2 separate regions of the Homo sapiens genome follow, and region 1 is linked to region 2. The links are contacts of gene promoters, found by promoter capture Hi-C in blood cells and fetal thymus (Javierre and others, 2016). All regions are on one chromosome and are shown on one strand. Each heading gives the region's core, a stretch centred on a gene start or on the middle of the fragment in contact. The rest is flanking DNA. Distances are from core to core; before and after follow the strand shown.

Region 1 (5,981 bases), core at 2,692-5,191, 1.0 Mb after region 2:
GGTTATTATCTGTCAATTACAGGCTGTATATACTTTATGTCAATAAAATTTATAATAAACATGTATGTACATATAAGCATCATTTTTCCCAGAGAGCCAGTTAGTAAACCTTTATCAGTACACTACTGCCTGTAGGAACCTCAAGGTCAACATATACACAACTGAGCTTCTTTCCCATGAAACCTGCTCTTCTCTTTTAGTATTTTTGTTTTGATTGATGATTCCACTATTCTCCAAGTCAGAACACTAGCAATCTTCCTAGCCTCCTCCTCCATTTTCTACATTCAATGACCTTATTCTCTCACAAGGTCACCCCTCTGATCTCTGTAGATCAGCCCCTCAGCAGTCCTTGCCACAACAGGTCTCGTCCTTCCACTCAACCCTCCACATGCCTGTTACATGTGATCTGCTCACTGTCTGCCTCTCACAGTCATATGCTTCCCCCCTCTTTTCTTTATATACACCTCTCTACTCTCCTACCTCTCCTGGCTGTTTCTCTCACACTGTGCCACAACCCTTCCCCCACCACCACAAGCCCTGTGCTCAAGTTATATAGAAGTGTTAGGAGTTTCTCAAACACCCCGGGCTATTTTATATCTATTTATATCACAGCACATACAACATTTTATTATACGATTACACCTATTTCCTTCTACTAAATGTCAAGCCCCTCCTAACACTCTATTTATCTCTGTATTCTACCACACATACTACATTATTTGCTTACAGAAGTACTTAGTGTTGAGTTTGGGTCCTTTGGTGAAATGCAAGAATGGAAAATATGCCATAACCACAGAAATGCAGTTTCTGTTACTAATTACCAATTAAGGCAGAATACCTTTCATAGATAACTAGCATTTGGAATAAAAGTATAAACAGAAATGAATAAATGTGCTAACTAAATTATTGCAAGTATGTACCAAATTTGGTTTTTTAGCCATCTTACTAGGTACTCTTACTAGATCCACAAAATTACTGTGTCCCAGGAAGGTGTTTCTGCCTAATATCTATTTTTATACAGATAGCTGATCATTCTCATAACACAAATCAAGCACGCTAAATTTAAAGCAAGACTGTTATGATGGCAAATAAATTAGTGGTGAAATGTCTGAATATAAACTATATTCATTACATTTGGTTCTGAGTCATTCATTCAATAGTTGTTGAGTGCCTTAGTCTGCACCAAGCTAGGTTTTAGGTATTGGGAATACACCAGTGAAAAAACCTGAAGCCCCAATGCTCATGAAACCTACATTCAAGTGGAGAAAGACAAACAATTTTACAACTAAATACAATACAGATGCCAGCTGGTGATAAGTGTTACCAAAAAAAAATTAAAGCCAACTAAGGGAAGACACAAACAAGATAGGGGTGGGCTGCTATTTACTATGGGGCTGTCTGCTAGAGTGACATCTAATCAGAGACCTGAAGGAAGTGAGTCCTGAGGACATTAGTGAGAGAGGACGTAGGAAATGCAAAGGCCCTGAGGTAGGGGCACTTTTAGTGTATGAAAGTACAGTAAGGCAGCCAGTGTAGGGGAAGTAGATGTAGATAAGGTCAAATACCACAACAAAGACTTGGAGTTTCACTCTGAGCAAGAAAGGAGGTCAATGGAGGGGTATGAATAGAGAATTGACATAATTTGACTAATTTTAAAAGGATCACTCTGGCTGCTGTATGGAAAATAAAATGTAGGGGGTCAAAGGTAGAAGCAGTAAGTTCAGAGAAGGGGACTTCTGCAATAATCCAGGTGAGACATAATGGCAGCCTAGATCAGATGGCAGTGGTAAAGGTGGTGAGAAGTCAGATTCTGGGTATGGTCTAAGCAGCATCTGGAAGGTATGCTGATGGATTGGATGTGGCAGGTGAAAGGAAAAATCAGGGTAACACCAAGGGTTTTGGTCTGAGCAACTGGTGGAGGAGTCATTATTTTCTAACAGGGAAATACTACAGGAAGTACAGCTTTTGGAGGTGGTTCTGATAGTAGTGATGATTCTGAGGTCTTTCATTTGCTGTGTAATAGGCTCTATTATCATTGCAACCATGAACTAAAGAAACCTGTCTTGAAAAGGAATGAAAGCTACTATGAGTAAGCACTACTAGTGACAAGAAAATTCACAACTAGGCCGGGCTTGGTGGCTCACGCTTGTAATCCCAGCACTTTGGGAGGCCGAGGCAAGCAGATCACCTGAGGTCAGGAGTTCGAGACCAGCCTGGCCAACATGGTGAAACCCTGTCCTTACTAAAAATACAAAAATTAGCCGGGCATGGTGGCAAGTGCCTGTAATCCCAGCTACTTGGGAGGCTGAGGCAGGAGAATCGCTTGAACCCAGGAATTGGAGGTTGCAGTGAGCCAAGATCGTGCCACTGCACTTTAGCTTGAGCGACAGCAAAACTCCATCTCAAAAAAAAAAAAAATTCACAACTGCAATTTGCTTGTATAGCTACTCAGTCACAAATGTGCCAGTGCAATTCAATCCTGAAAGGGCCTTCTCTGCTTATCACCTGAGTCTTCACATACATAGAAGTCAACTTCTATGCGTTTCTTCCCCTAGTCCCTCACTACACAATCTTCAGAGGTTGATCTCATTGAGAACAGACTAAGGCTTTGGGCCCCTAACTAATAACTGAGAGCTATCTAATGTCAGCATGAAATGGATTACCAAAGCTCAGTTCCAGAAGGGTAGTCAGGAAAAAGAGCATGGCATATTACACATACTGCAGATTACACAACTAAAAAATACTACAAAACTGAAAAAAATTAAATTTATCTCTGTGAAGTTAGTGAAAAGTATATTTAGACATGCACATGTGTCTAAGGAGAGAACTGCTCTAGAACAGAACCTTTTAAGAATTGCTATTCTAAATCAAAGCAAAAAACAAACAAACCACACTGGGTATCTAAATACTACACGTTAACCAGTGAATATACTCTCTTCCAATTATCATTTGGCTTAAAATGTTGGTTAAATTTACTTTTTGGCCCAAACTATATGGAAGAAAAGCAAATGAAACAGCCATTTCTCCCAGGAAGAGCCCACATATCTGAATGAACATTTCTATTCAAAGTAAGGTTTTTCAGAACTTTTTTTTTTTTTAAATTAGGCAGGGACTCATTCCCATCATGCAGGCTAGAATGCAGTGGTGCAATCATGGCTCACTGCAGCCTCAATTTTCCAAGCTCAAGCAATCCTTCCACCTCAGCCTCCCCGGTAGCTGGGACGACGGGCACACACCACCACGCCTGGCTAGGTTTTTCAGAACTCTTATTTCAATAAACCAGGCAAGGCAACAACTCAGAAAACCTACCGTTGACTTAATGTGGGATGCTGTAGCAAATGTCTCATCCAGGTGCTTCTTATCACGTTTCGAAGTTCATGGTTATTGCGAGCTGACAACACGCCAACTACCACATCATAGTGAGTAGATTTCCACTGAGGAAATAAGGCCAACTGATCTAGAAATAAGAACAATACATGAGAAATAAGTCATGTATCAATTACTATGAAGTTCAATATGTATCATAAGTTTATTACAAAATAAGCTTATGTTTGTAGGAAATTCAGATAAACACAAAGAAAAGAATTTTTAAATCACATATGAACCCACTATCCAGAGACAACCACTAATAACATTTTGGTTTAGAGTATTTTTGTCTTTCACGTATATATGTATGTATTCATGCTCACGTAAGTATACTAATTCTTCAAAACAAACAAGATGTGGTAAGAATCTGTTTCAAAAGGCAACGTAGCATAAAAAAATAGTAGGCATTAAGAGTCAATTAGGCCACAGTTAGAATCCAGGCTCTATCATATATTAACTATAAGTTATTTAGCTTCTTGAGCCTCAGTTTCCTCAACTACAAAATGGGTATAATAATACTTCTCATAAAGCTGTTGTAAAAATTAAATGAGATAACATGTATAAAGCTCTTGGTTTGGTATTAGGCATATATGAGGCATTCAATGGCAACTAAAAAAAATGTGCTTTGAAAAGTGAGGTCCTACATTAATGTTAGTTATTAAGTTTGGCGGATGACGCTGAAGGACTTCCATACCGGAAAGTAATGCAACCCTTATTTATATCAATGAATTCTATAGCCAGTAAACCTTTCACTACCTACAAAATATTCTGAAGAATGACGGGAAAGCAACACTTTTAGTAAAAAAAAAAAAAAATAATAATAAAGTAAGTCATTCTGAACGGCTCATTTTTTACTGTCAGAAGGTCTAATGGGCAGGGTTACATTTCCATGTAAAACTTGTCCTTAGAAGACAGAAGAGAAAGATATACTTTGTCCTTGTTTTTCATCACCAGTTTTAAGGCTTGAGAGCTACAAGCTTATATATAGCTCTGATGAGGTATCCATTTCATCTCTTTCTCCAGTGGTGGGAACTGATCCAAAACGTTTCCAAAAATAAATTATTGAAGCCCAGACTCTTTACTATATTAAATGCAATGTTTTTATATACCATGGGATCTAGGTATTCAGTCTAAAAGACAACAAAACCAGGTTGATATTTTCTTCAAAGGCCCAATTAAAATAATAAAAACAGATCTTTCTACTAGGATAGTTTTAAGGATATAATACAGAAATTTTTGTGTAGATACCTTATTTTCCACAATAGATATATTTCTTAAAATGTTTCATTCTGGGCCAGGCACGGTGGCTCATGCCTGTAATCCCAGCACTTTGGAAGGCCGAGGTGGGCGGATCACCTGAGGTCGGGAGTTCAAGACCAGCCTGACCAACATGGAGAAACCCTGTCTCTACTAAAAATACAAAATTAGCCGGGTGTGGTGGTGCTTGCCTGTTATCCCAGCTACTTGGGAGGCTGAGGCAGGAGAATCTCTTGAACCCGGGAGGTGGAGGTTGGGGTGAGCCGAGACCGCGCCATTGCACTCCAGCCTGGGCAACAAGAGTGAGACTCCACCTGAAAAAAAAAAAAAAGTTCCATTCCAAATGGAATAGAGGTATTTATTATTTCACTCTACAATGAGTCATGTACTAAAACGAATTCTTTTATAAAGACAATTTATTTTTAAATAAATTCAAATTTTCATGGATTAAGCTTATTAATAGGCCATATTTATTGAACAGTTAATCTGTGAAAAGCACTACATATAGAGTATCATTTAATGTTCACAACCCTATGAGGTAGGTACTTGTTTCTTTTTTTTTTTTTTTTTGACGGAGTCCCACTCTGTGGCCCAGTCTGGAGTGCAGTGGCGGCGATCTCGGCTCACTGCAACCTCTGCCGCCCGGGTTCAAGTGATTCTCCTGCCTCAGCCTCCTGAGTAGCTGGGATTATAGGCGCCTGTCACTGTGCCTGGCTAATTTTTGTAGTTTTAGTAGAGATGGAGTTTCACCATCTTGGCCAGGCTGGTGTTGAACTCTTGACCTTGTGATCCACCGCCTCGGCCTCCCAAAGTGCTGGGATTACAGGCGTGATCCACCGTGCCTGGCCCAGTACTTGTTGAACAAATGAAACACCCAAAGAATTCAGTAACTTAAGTCAAACAGCTTGGAAATGGCTGGGCTAAGATTTAATCCCAGGCAATCTAACACCATTCTTTATCACTGTTCTATTCTAAAGCTATACAGCTTAATATAGCTTATCTGAGTCTAAATTCTGATCTTTTAATCCACAATACCAGTTCAACTGAATTAGCAATAAGCGGATCATTGAATACGCTGGGTAACACATCAATTTTTTTTAACTCATAGCTCAGAACATTTTTTCTCAGATACATAACTATATGATGGAAGTTGTACCTAGTGCTGGAACTCACTCTAAATGAGTGTCTGAATTCAGAGACTAATTTAAATGACTATGTAAAACTGACAATATGCCTCCCCACCTTTTTCACAGAGAAATATGTACATTCTAGTGTCAGGAAGGAGGCAAAACAAAGGTAGTGACCAGCCAGTTCTGACATTGATTCCACAGCCAAGATTTTGCATTACGTTAGTAAGA
Region 2 (5,566 bases), core at 2,273-4,772:
CGCTCAGACACATGGGGCCTAAATACAAGGCTGCAGTGGAAGAAATGAAAAGCCCCTGCCTCATCTCTTGCACCAGGGAACAAGCATCAGCAGTCTACCCCTGAGGGAGGGACGAAGCCTTGGCTGAAGACCTCCATCGGTGGCACAGGCCTCCCAGGCTGGAGAAAAACCTTTCGAGACTCCAGGCTTCAGCTAAGCAAGTAGCCACAAAATCTGGGAAAAGTTTGTAAAGTGCACTGAAAACAAATACAGCAACCAACGCCAAACCCAGCTCAACTACAAACTAGACTAACTCAATGCCACAAAGTAACGGTGCCTATCCCAGGCAGAAATATTTACTTCCATCTCTACTGTTATTATAGTAAGACATAAAAAAAAGCGACTCCATAGCCAAACACTACAACAGAAAACAAAGCCAAACTTAGATGGTCCAGGTATCGAACTTGCAGATAACTATAATTGATATGCTAAAGGATCTTGTGGAAAAGGTAAACAATATGCATAAACAGATGAGCAGATGGGGATTTTCAGGAGAGAAACTCCAAAAGCGTCAAATGGAAATGAGAGAAAAACATGATGGCAGACATAAAGGAGCATTTGATGGAATTATCAGACAAACAAGACCTTAAAAAAATCCTATTTCAGGAAACTGCTAGAGAATGCACTGCACTGACACAAGTGAGTAAAGCAAAAAAGAGGAAGATATGAACTACAGGAAATGAGACTCAACAGAACACCCAGGTGAAGGGAATCCCGGGGTAAGCGTGAGGTCTGTGCACCAGGCACAGGGAGAAACCTGCGACATCTGGGCATGTAAGGGGACTCTGGGAGAAACTTCTTCAGGAAAACCTCTGATGATCTGATTTTGTAGAGGAAAGATTTAGTCAACTGGTTAAGAATTTAAGGAGGAATTCGTGGTAAGTATAGAAAGAACCGAACACATTTTAAAACGTCAAAATCATATGAAAAACTTGCAGGAAGAGAAAAATGATCAGTTTCCTACATAGATCACCTGCAAGCAGCATTTACAGTCATAATTTTATAAATGCTGAACACACATTTAACCAAAATTTTAACTGTGACAATATATTTTATGATATAACTAAGATATACTATGTCAAGACATAGGGGTAAATCCCCTAATATTCCGTTAAGAGGCCACAGGATTTGCTTTCTGTAACAGAGGAAATGGGAGTTGCAGGAAGCATGGAAGCACCATTGCTTATCCCTAAAACTGCAAAATAACTGGCCGAGCGCGGTGGCTCACGCCTGTAATCCCAGCGCTTTGGGAGGCCAAGGCGGGCAGATCACCTGAGGTGAGGAGTTTGAGGCCAGCCTGACCAACACGGTGAAACCCCGTCTCTATTAAAAATACAAAATTAGTGGGGCATGGTGGCGCATGCCTGTAATCCCAGCTACTCTGGAGGCTGAGGCAGGAGAACCGCTTGAACCCGGGAAGTGCAGGTTGCGGTGAGCGGAGATTGTGCCATTGCATTCCAGCCTGGGCAACAAGACCGAAACTCCATAAAACAAACAAACAAACAAACAAAACTGCAAAATAACAGACTCATGTAAATAAATGAATGTTTTAATTTTTGATGATTTAAAAAATGTTTTCCAGTGAAAACTCTCAGGGATGATCACACCTATCTGTGGACTGTTCAAATATTTACTCTCTAATGTTTTAAAATTACTTGAAAATATAACCTCATAACTTCAGCCAAACAAAAATCCTTTACCTGTAATAAATGGTCAGCTACCGTTGAAAAAGTAGAAATATTCTATTGAGACAATTTTGAGTCAATCTACTTTGTACTTGACAGTTTAAACCCAAATTTAACATGAGTGAAGTCAAACCAATCAACAGTAACGTAACAACTTGAAGGGAGGCCTTGCTGTTTCATTACTCTTGCACATAGTAGGGAGCAAAGCTCAAACAGTTAAAAAATAAAATCTGATTCATTCTATTAAATCAATGGCAAAAATACACTCAAAAGGTCGACTTAAGAAACATGTTTAACAAATATTAGTAAATCCTGTTCCTAATTACCAGGGGAAATTTCAGAAGAGTGTGATGGCCTCTATGACGCTTAATTCTAACACTCAACACTCAATTCACTAATTCACTGGTCAGTACAGATAAATAACAAATAATTTTTCTTTCAACTTGATAGATATCAACCGTTTCTATTGGGTTGAATCTACCATGATATAGTGCAGATTTGGGTCTGTAAAATCTTGCACGGGCTCCATTATCTTCCTAAACTATTCCAGGGGTGCTGTATTCCACCGGCTCTGGGTTAGAACGTTCCCAACCGCAGTGATTTGTGACTTCAAAGAACACCCTCGAGAAGGGGTTCCAAAGGTTTTCAGGCTTTAGGGGAGCAACGCGGAATAACCAAATTCTGCATGGATCGGAGTGACGACCCCGATAAGCTAGTTTTTAGAAGCAGGAAGACTCCCCTCTGGGGCAGCCAAGTAGGTAGCACTAGGCTGGGGGGCAAAGAGGCAGGTACCGTTTCCTTCCTGGGGCCCGCAGGTGCAGTCGGCCCCCAGCTCCGCCGACACCTCCACCGCCCTCTGCAGCAGGTAGCGCGCTCGCTTGCGCGTCAGGGCGTCCGCCTGGCCCAGCCCCGCCTGCACCGTCCTCCAGAAGCGCCAGCAGCGCCGGGCGTCCGGGCCCGCCTCGCGCGCGCCGCGGGCGCGGTCGCCGCCGGGCTCGGGCAACAGCTTCTCGGCCAGGGCGCTCAGGACCAGCAGCTTCTCCTCTACGCGGCCGGACCCCAGGGACGCCCCAGGCGCGGCCAGCCCGCCCCACACGGCCCGCAGCGCCGCCCCGCCACATTGGACCAGCACTGGCAGCAGTCGCCCGGCCACCAGCGCCGCCGCGTCCTCGGCAGGCCCGGCCTCATCCCCGTCCCCGCCCCCGCCCAGCGCCAGGGCGACGGCGGTCCCCGCCACGCGCTCCAGTAGCGGCCCGTCCTCGCGGGGCCGCAAACATGGCCCGACGGCTGCTAGCACTTCCACGGCAGCCTCGGCGCCAGGCGCGCGCCACCCGGCGAGCAGATCGCGCAGCGCCTCCTCAGCCAGCGCGGCCGCCAGCTGCGGACGCCCGGCCAGGCGGACGCACGAGCGCAGGGCCGCGCCCGCCGCCCTCAGCACGCGCCGGCGGTGGCGAGGCTGCAGACTGGGGTCCGGGCCGCCCGCGGGGCGTCCGCGCAGGCTCCGCAGCAGTGGCACGAGGTACCCTGCAGCCACCTCGCGCGCCGCCTCCGGGAGCGCGCCTGCGCCCCCGCTGCCGCGCGCCTCCTCGTCCTCGAGCCGCTGCAGAAGGAAGCGCAGCGTCTCCACGCGCTCCGCGGATGCCTCCCCTTGGCACAGCGCCCCAAGCAGGGCCCGGGGGTCCCGGCTCTGCGAGAGCAGCGCTTCCGCGAGCACCCACTCCATTTGCCGAGCGCCCGCGCCACCGGCCCGGGCTCCCAAAGGAAGGCGCCGGCGTGTGCGATGCGTGCGCACAGGACCGGCCGGCCCCTACGTGCGCGTGCGCCGACGGAGCCGGGCGCGCGGCCGCAGAGAGGGGGATCCCAGCCCGGCTTGGTGCAGCTCAGCTTCCCTTGGGTTCCTGCCACCAACCCTGCCTAGATAGAACCCACCTGGTCTCTTATTTTTAGGAGAAACGAGGCCTTCGTTAAAAGTTAATGTAGTATCTACACCAGCTTCATCGATTCCTGATTGGAGGTTGGTCTGCCCAGGACCCTAAATCAGGCGTGCCTGTGAGCATAAACCAGTTCACAGAAGGTGCACAGCAGAATCACTTTAGATTATTTTCCAAACGTTGCATGATGGGCACCATCCACAAAGAGACTGACACAGTAGGTCTGAAATTGGTTCTGGACATCTGCATTAAAAATAAGTCATGAAAACACAAGAATGATTTAGACGTAAGGCCAGGAGTGAGAAGTGTTACCGGTGGAGGGTGTCCAGGTCCAAGAATTGGACAAAGCGCACAAACAAAGCAAAGACAGAATGAAGCCACAAAAGCAGAGATTTATTGCAAAAGTACACTCCACAGGGTGGGGGCAGACCCAAGCAAGCCGCTCAAGGGGGGCTGGTTACAGAATTTTCTGGGGTTTAAATACCTATAGAGGTTTCAATTGGTTACTTGGTGTACACACTATGTAACTGAAGAGGATAAAATGAAGTTACAAAGTTATTTACTTGGTGTACTCCCTATGTAAATGAAGAGGATATTTCCTGTCATAGCTGAAGTGTTTCTATCTGATTTGGTTCTAGGGAGTTTTTGGATTCCCTGCCTCCAGGCCCTATTCTCCTGCCTTAGAGGTACCTATAGCAATGTGCTAGGATTCAGCTAAAACCAAGATGCCCACGCCAGCCCTCACAGCCAAGTGCCCAAGATGACTCCAGGATGCAGAGCCTCCTGCACAATGCATGTGCTCCCATGTGCAAACTCAAAAATAGTCCCTGTGTCTGTCTTTTCTGTATTTCTGACAGCATCCATTGCTAAATAGAGAAACAGAAAACCTCACCTCGGCATGCATGGTGTGGATTTGGTTCCTGGCTCAATTTGAGACAAACTAGATCAGTGACATAGGGTTTTCTTCGCTACTAAACACAAAGATCTGCCTCTTAGTCAATAGAGAAAACAGGGTCCCAACTTCAAAGAGCTTGACATATAATAACATAATGGATAAGACAAAAATTAGTTATTTAAATTTACAGTTATTTTTATATAAAGTTATCTGACTTTAAGGTTATCTGACATTACACAGGCAAGACTTTTTTCATATTTCAGTCATTCCGTTTTTCATTGACAAAATGCATAAATGTTTCTATTTTAAGCCCTTTTAACATGTCAGTAAATATCAATTACCTTCAACATAAAATGTGCAGAAAACTATTGTTTCTGTCAACATATATCTAACAAATATAAATGGGTAAATGTCTTGAGCACTTAACAAACGAAGATACACAAATGATAAGCACTTGGAAAAGTGTTCAACATCATTAGTCATCAGAGAAATGCAAATTAAACCCACAATGAGGTACCACTTCATACTGATGAGAATGGCTAACATGTAAAAGCTCGAAAACACTAAACGGCAAAGACCAAGGGTGTGGAGCAACTGGAATTCTCATACATTACTGGTGGGCATGAAAACGGTACAGTCACTTTAGAAACTGTTTCTCGTAAAGTTATAATATAGCTGCTTTATGATTCAGCGATTTCACCCCCAGGTAATTACCTAAAATAAATGAAAACATGTTTCAAAAAAAAAAGCTTGCAGAAGAATGTTTTTGACAACATTATTCGTTATAGCCAAAAGCTTATAACAACCTAGTAGGTGTTAGGTAACAACCTACATGTGCATCAAATTGAAGAATGAATAAAAAATTGTGATCTATCTATATAATAATGCTCCCAGCAATAAGACAATGAATTGCTAATCCGCTTTACATGGATAAGTCTCAGAAACAATATGTTAAACAAAGGAAGCCAGTCACAACGTTTACATCCTCGTGATTTCATTTATATGAAATCCAAGAA

Evidence for each region. The method cuts DNA at HindIII sites, captures the fragments that hold promoters and counts their contacts. A CHiCAGO score of 5 or more calls a contact.
Region 1: a fragment that was not itself captured here is called in contact with the fragment with the promoter of TARBP1 in region 2 in 3 of 17 cell types (naive CD4 T cells, total CD4 T cells and naive CD8 T cells); the score reaches 5.8 in naive CD4 T cells.

The regions. Positions count from the first base shown.
Region 1 is chr1:235,491,372-235,497,352 of GRCh38, forward strand. B3GALNT2 (beta-1,3-N-acetylgalactosaminyltransferase 2) reads right to left here. Exons shown (of 12, transcript NM_152490.5): 2 at 3,310-3,457. Among named protein-coding and RNA genes, the nearest start is that of B3GALNT2, 10 kb to the right of the region's middle. RefSeq lists a silencer at 1-197. The HindIII fragment of the contact is 799 bases long and covers 3,543-4,341 here.
Region 2 is chr1:234,475,657-234,481,222 of GRCh38, forward strand. TARBP1 (tRNA guanosine 2 -O-methyltransferase TARBP1) reads right to left here and starts at 3,523. Exons shown (of 30, transcript NM_005646.4): 1 at 2,517-3,523. The coding sequence starts at 3,447. RefSeq lists silencers at 2,620-3,419, 3,450-3,639. The HindIII fragment of the contact is 13,603 bases long and covers 1-5,297 here.